Linked DNA regions of Homo sapiens: region 1 is linked to region 2. Evidence: promoter capture Hi-C in 16 types of primary human blood cells and fetal thymus (Javierre and others, 2016). All regions are on one chromosome and are shown on one strand. The core of a region is centred on a gene start or on the middle of the fragment in contact, and the rest is flanking DNA. Distances in the headings are between cores, read along the strand shown.

Evidence for each region. Contacts are between HindIII fragments. The CHiCAGO score rates a contact against its expected background, and 5 or more counts as called.
Region 1: a fragment that was not itself captured here is called in contact with the fragment with the promoter of RDH11 in region 2 in 2 of 17 cell types (fetal thymus and naive B cells); the score reaches 7.0 in fetal thymus.

What each region holds. Positions count from the first base shown.
Region 1 is chr14:67,363,662-67,367,119 of GRCh38, reverse strand. It overlaps EIF2S1 (eukaryotic translation initiation factor 2 subunit alpha), which reads right to left. Exons shown (of 8, transcript NM_004094.5): 2 at 2,112-2,353. The coding sequence starts at 2,352. It also overlaps a transcript of GPHN not described here. Among named protein-coding and RNA genes, the nearest start is that of EIF2S1, 5.1 kb to the right of the region's middle. RefSeq lists an enhancer at 1-43. The HindIII fragment of the contact is 859 bases long and covers 1,679-2,537 here.
Region 2 is chr14:67,693,952-67,697,266 of GRCh38, reverse strand. RDH11 (retinol dehydrogenase 11) reads left to right here and starts at 1,503. Exons shown (of 7, transcript NM_016026.4): 1 at 1,503-1,637. The coding sequence starts at 1,564. It also overlaps a transcript of GPHN not described here. RefSeq lists enhancers at 1,186-1,235, 1,256-1,305, 1,350-1,986 and a silencer at 2,336-2,395. The HindIII fragment of the contact is 2,925 bases long and covers 1-1,715 here.

The sequences.
Region 1 (3,458 bases), core at 859-3,358, 330 kb after region 2:
GAGTCCACCCTGTGTTTCAGTAGTTCAGGGACAAACCAGAGATTTGGGAAGAATTTATATAGACTTAGGGGATCTCCCTTTGTGCCTGCCGCCTCCTTTCTCTAACCCTCACCACTATCACCACCAGTTTCCATCTACTATGGTTGTCTACAACTCTCGCCTCCAGTTCTAAAGCCAATAAGACCATAAATTTTCTGCTAGAACCTTAGCTGCCTGGCTTGAAGCTGTCTTCAGCATGTACTTAGGTCAAAAAAAAAGGTGTAAAACAGAAAACATACCCTTTCTTATAAGTGTCGACTCACCTTCAAATTTTCAATTTTGGCCTGCTTTTGGCTGCTTCTCATTGTCTTTAGGTAGTTATTTTTCATACTTGTTCAGGGTTTATGGCATTTACGTTGAAAGGCTTGTCTAGGAGGACATAATTCTCTAGTATCAAAATGAATCCTCTCTACAGGCTCTTTTGCACTTTGCTTTTTCTCATCCTATCCTGGAGATCTTCCATATCAAAATATTCAGATCTCATTCTGCATAAAATTGCATTGCACGCATTTGTACTGATTTATTTAACCAGTCCCCATTTTGGTCATTTCCTGGTTTTAGTTAATGCCATACAAACAAATGCTATGGAAATATCTTTACATGTATCTACTGTACGTAAGCAAGTATGCCATTCCATATTTTTTCTGATTGCAACTAAAAACATATTTGATTCCTCCTTTTGTGTATATTTTATACAATAGAAAAAGAAGGCTGAGCACAGTGGCTCACACCTGTAATCCCAGTACTTTGTGAGGCCAAGGCAGGAGAATCGCTTGAGCCCAGTTCAAGACTAGCCTGGGCAACACAGCAAGACCCCATCTCTACAAAGAAAGTTAGCTGGGCAGGGTGGCACATGCCTGTAGTTCCAGCTACTTGGGAGGACTGCTTGAGGAACACTTGAACACAGGAGTTCAAGGCTGCAGCGACCTATGATCATACCACTACACTGCAGCCTGGGTGACAGAGCAAGACCCCAATTCTTAAAAAAAAAAAAAAAAAGTACAAGATTAGACACTACTTTAGGTACTACTAGGACAGTGATGTGAAGACTTACCTAAGTTTAACAAATAGTCTCAAAGTAGTTTAATAATTTTGGGCGGGGCTATAGCTAAGTCATAGCAAAACATTTAAAACAATCCATGTGCTAAGTAGCAGTCACTACCTAAGGCATAAGACATCCTCAAAATCTATGTATCATCTAAGGCTATAATAAAAAAAATTAAAATGTCAGTATGTATAAAATTAATCACTTGCAGAAGTGAGAAAGTATCAGTAAACCAGACGGCTGAGGAGATTCAGAAGGGTAAGTTGAATCAAGGTGACTGATATGAAGCCTTTCGGACATGATGGTAACTAATGACCTAAAACTAACACCTAACAAATTATAGTAAGATGGCTGAAACTAAAACCTACGTAATGGTATTGTACACCATGTTTAAAAAAAGAGTATTCACAAAGGTGATGATTTACATGGGGCCCAGAAAAGGCATCCAATAAGTAAAAAATGAATGCTCATCCAAAACTGTCTGAAAGATACCACGAGATCTGGTAGATGCAAACATTCTAATTACCAGCAAGATATACAATGTTGGATTTCAGGTGTGTATATACACGCATAGTATATTGCTTTTTCAAAGCTTATATAAAAGATCCCTAAAATCCATTTGCCCCATTTTCATGCTTACCCAGTGATCTCATTACTATTTTAGCTTTAAATCAAGAAAAAGGCATCCAACATATTCAGGCCTACCAATGTAAATGAACTAGTACTCTGACTTACCTGTCTCTAAGTTTGGTTACCATGAGTCAATTATCAAGATCCTGATAAACACTAGAAATAAAATTCAAGTTATCTGATCCATAAAATCCTAGGATGTACTAATTAAACTACTATTAAGAGATCTTGCTTAGATAGCTAATTGGCATCCTTTTCTAACAACTTTGTATGTAAAAGGTTTAAGTATAAAAGGAGCTTTTTTTTTTAAGCTGCAGCTTGCAATTTACAAAAAATGTATTTTTAAATAAACCATTTTAAATCTGAAATTTATATTACAGATATTTTTCTCACTTACCTTTTTCTTTGTCCACCCTAATGACAACCACACACTCATTCCTGCCAATTCGGATGAGTTTGTTGATAGAACGGATACGCCTTCTGGATAATTCACTAAGAAGAATCATGCCTTCAATGTTGTTGTATTCCAGCAAGCTGACATAAGCCCCCATTTCAGCAATGGATCTGACATTCACCATCACTACATCTTCCACCTCAGGAAATTTGTGTTGATAAAATCTACAACTTAGACCCGGCATTCTGCAATTTAAACAAAAGAATTAAGTAAGTATTCAGTTAAGGTGAAAATAAAAAAAAAATCAATTTCCACATCCTGCCACTGAAAGAAAAGATGAAGAAAAAAATAGTTATTAGTCTTAGTCTTCTCATCCTTTGAAACTTCTTAAGTGGTACCAGAAAACAGATAATGTTCAGGAACCAAGCTTTAATTTTTATTTTGCTCAACATTTTTGTAATGCTTGGGTGATTCTCTGCCTTTAGTTTCAGAGGAATCATAAAAAATAATGACCATCTATAAAGTACTCCAAGACCTAAGGATTAAAGGAATACCTCAAGAGTAAAATACTACTTTAAGGCATATCAAATGATGGGAAGCATCACTATTATAACTAATCAGAAAACTAAAGCTACTCTTTGCCGAAGTGAGCAAACATTGTATACGCTACCACTCACTATATAAAGGAAAAAATTTTCTACCTAAACCCTAACCAATATACCAAATGATACATTCTGTCATTTATTATAGCCAAAATTACAGTGTCACATGTCAAAACAACAAAAACTAAAAAAATTTTAATCACAAAATAAACTAAAATGCATCCTCCTCTCATAATTCTTTTTCCTTGAATTCACAATGTCTAGCTTCTCTTATCCCCAATACTCCCAAATATTCCTTTCTTTTATTGAATAGGTATACCTAATCTTGAGAATAGCTTTAATCTCCATTACTACAAAGTTCAAGTTTCTCTTAACCTCCAAGCATTAAAGATATTTACAATTATTCCCTTTGATCCACCCAACCTACTTTCAGCACTACTCCTTTTATGATCCACAAGCCTGAAATCATAGCCTGGGTAGAAGCATATTTAAAAAAGGAAGCTCTCAAACTAATCATGGCTGATGATTTTCATGTTTTTCTGTTAACCTTCACTGTTGTCACTGCTCAAAACGTAGGTAGTAACAGAACTTAAAGGCCTAAGAAAACCTTGTGAAAATTCATATAATAACTTATTAATTGGCACCTGCCTATATCTTCTCAGTGGCTTCCCACTGACTTATGTATCTTTCCACTACCTACAGAATCCTATATGATCTGGCCATTGCCTATCTCCTTGTGGTACAACTT
Region 2 (3,315 bases), core at 254-2,753:
AGCTCCCAGAGCTTTCTCTAATCCTCCTCATAACCTTCACCATGATTTATTTACAGTGATTACTTATTTAAGGTCTTCTCTGACAGTCCATGAACTCCGGGCGAGCAGAGATTATGTGTTCCTGGCTTCCTGCTGGACATCAGCACAGTGCCTAGTACACTATAGGAATGCCATAAATGTTTGTCAAATGCGTGAATGACTGAATAAGGAACAAAACAAATGAAAGGCTTTTATAAAGTTATAAAACCCAATACAAATATTAGGTAACACAATAATGAGAATGTGACAAAATGTGATGATTGCTAGGTAATCTAATGTTAAATTGGTAGGAATTAGTATTGTGTGAAGGAAACCCTCTCTTCTCCAATTTGCTATAAAATATATTAGTTCATTGGAACCCGTGTCTTTTAACCAAATGGAAATTATGCAAAAGGACCAGAAAATATTACTGGGTACAATTAAGGAATCACAGACAGATATTGATTGGTTAAAACACCCTCCACTTTCACCCCCAGGAAATAGGCCTCAGATGAAAGAAACTATTGAACAGGGAACCTATTTATTCACAGAGAACATATTCATGGCCTTAATTCAAGACAGGATTAAATACTTTCACGAGTTGGCAAAACCAACTGTGCCAATCTGAGATATTCATTGCTACCCTGGGAGTTAATGTATGTGACCCAAGCCATCAGGAAGACGATATTCTATTATCAATGAACACTCAAACACTAGAAAAATCATGATAGTTGCCACCATAATTCAAGATAGACACAATAAAGTGATTCTCCTGAGAATGTCTTCAAGGACTTATTGCTTCCTCTTCTCTGGAAAAAGGAATCCTCGAGGAGGAAGGGTTTACATTCCCCCACCTTCCCAACTGTCAGACTTCGGACCGCTCCTCTCCTGTCTAATCCGCCTTTCATTTCCCAGACGCCAACATCTGATCTCCAGGAGAAACAGTGCGGTAACTGCCTAACCAGGATTGGGGAAAACTGAACCAGGCACTGGACTTGGGTCTGGGGAGATAGAGGACTGCAGAGATTTCACAAACACCGCGGTGCCTAGTACACTATAGGAATAAGTGTACTATTCCTATAGTGTATACTTTTTTTTTTCCAGAAAAATCCCTCTGGGGTATGAGCACTATTTTCAGTTCTGGTTCAACTTTTCATTGAGATTCTATGTGGATAAGAGGATCTTGTAGTGAAAAAAAGATAAAAAGCAGTGTTTTCATCTGAGTGTGAGAAACCATGTGTGCCTAGAGGTGGGAGAACTGAGTATTCAGAAGGCAGAAAAAATAACTGAGAGCTGGGTGAATGATCCCACAGGCCCTAAGCCCTAGATGGTTGGGGATTAGCGATGTATAATTCAACTTCTGCCAGCGTTGGCGGCAGCGCTCCCACGTAGCCAGCCTGAGGCTGTCAAGCTCTGGACTACATTTCCCAGAAGGTCTGCTCCCCGGGCTGTCGCAATTTGAATTGGGGCGTGTCTAGAAAGAGAAGCCATAGTCGGCGAGCAACGCTGGAGCATCCCGCTCTGGTGCCGCTGCAGCCGGCAGAGATGGTTGAGCTCATGTTCCCGCTGTTGCTCCTCCTTCTGCCCTTCCTTCTGTATATGGCTGCGCCCCAAATCAGGTCTGTGCAAATGTATTGCCTTCTCTTGAGAATTCTTGTTGCGGGGCGGGAGGGAAACATAGAATCCCCACCAAAGCTTTCTTGGAAAACTCCCCTGGGGGGGCTCCAAGATGGCGGAGCCCAGAGTTCGGTGGGTTGGAGGCGAGGTCCAGCTGTCCTGGGTGCCAGGAGGACACCCGAGACCCCAGGCGGTGAGAAAGGGCGGCAGTCCGGGGCACACTGCTTTTCCCTGGCCTGTTTTTCTTTTGTCTAAGCACCCCCTGATTCTGGCTCCAGGGAATCCCGAGGGTAAGGCTACCTCAAACGCTTGAGTTTCGGACTCTTCAATGGGATATGGCCCGACGCTGTTTTCCCCTTATTCCCCACGCCTTAAACCAGCCTTCGAGGTACAAAGGAGCGATTCCACATTTCGCCCTCTGAAACTGATAGCAATCGTAACATCTGCGGCCCCATCCTTGCTCTCTCGTTGCTGTTACAATCGCTTGTTCTGTGGGCGGATGTTGTAAAGGAGAAAAGTGAAAAGGAAGAGTGTTTGGTTATGAGCTCTATCCTGCCTTGCGAGCAGGAGCACGGGGGATCTGAGTTAGGAGCTAGGGTACTGGGGCGGTGAGGGCTGGGAGAATGGTGGGAAGGTATTGACCAGGTGATAGATCAATCAGCCCAAGGCTGGCCAAGTGCCCCAGTGAATCAGCAGCGGGCTGTAAAACCGGCAGCCTGCTTATTGGTTCTAAGTAAATCACCAGTGGTGACGGACCAGTGACTGAATAGACAGACACACTCCTTCCCCAGGTGGGCGGTCTTAGTCCCAATAGAACTTGAAGCCAGGCCAGATCACAGTCATTTCTTACCACAGTCACCTACTTTCCTTCTTTTATTTTTATTTTCTCTTCCTTCTCTGGTGCCCCTCTTCCAGTTATATTTTTTCTGCCTTCTGAACACTCAGTTCTCCCACCTCTAGGCACACATGGTTTCTCACACTCAGATGAAAACACTGCTTTTTATCTTTTTTTCACTACAAGATCCTCTTATCCACATAGAATCTCAATGAAAAGTTGAACCAGAACTGAAAATAGTGCTCATACCCCAGAGGGATTTTTCTGGAAAAAAAAAAAATATATGTGTGTATATATATATATATATGTGTGTGTGTGTATATATATATATGTGTGTGTGTGTGTATATATATATATATATATATTCCAGGAGCTGTATTCCCAACTCAGCAGGGTTATGGGAGTCGGGCCAGAGCTGGACTTTTATAGTTGTCTCTTTCATTCCTGCTGGTTAAGGAGAAGAAAGAACTAAGTACAGGTCCTACTAAGTTGTCACTCCTGGAGCTACATACAGTAAGGGGATGTGGGAAACAGCCTAGAGGCTTGTTTTCTGAGGAGGGAGGTGATGGTTTGTGGGGACCATGAGTTAATCTGCCTCCCTGTCAGCATTTTCGCACTATGCAGGTAGCTTCAATGGCTAAGAGTATGTACCTTGCAATTCCAAGTTCAATGAAAAAGGCTGAAATGCTCTTTAAGAATGCATCTCCTGGTCAACAGATTGTTTTAACCAGAGTCCCAACATTGCCAAGAAGAGAATAGGCCAGTCTGAGAACCACCAATCTGTGTTTGTGCATTCATTCATTTGGAAAAGGCAATATAGTATAGTACTTAGAAACAAGCACTCT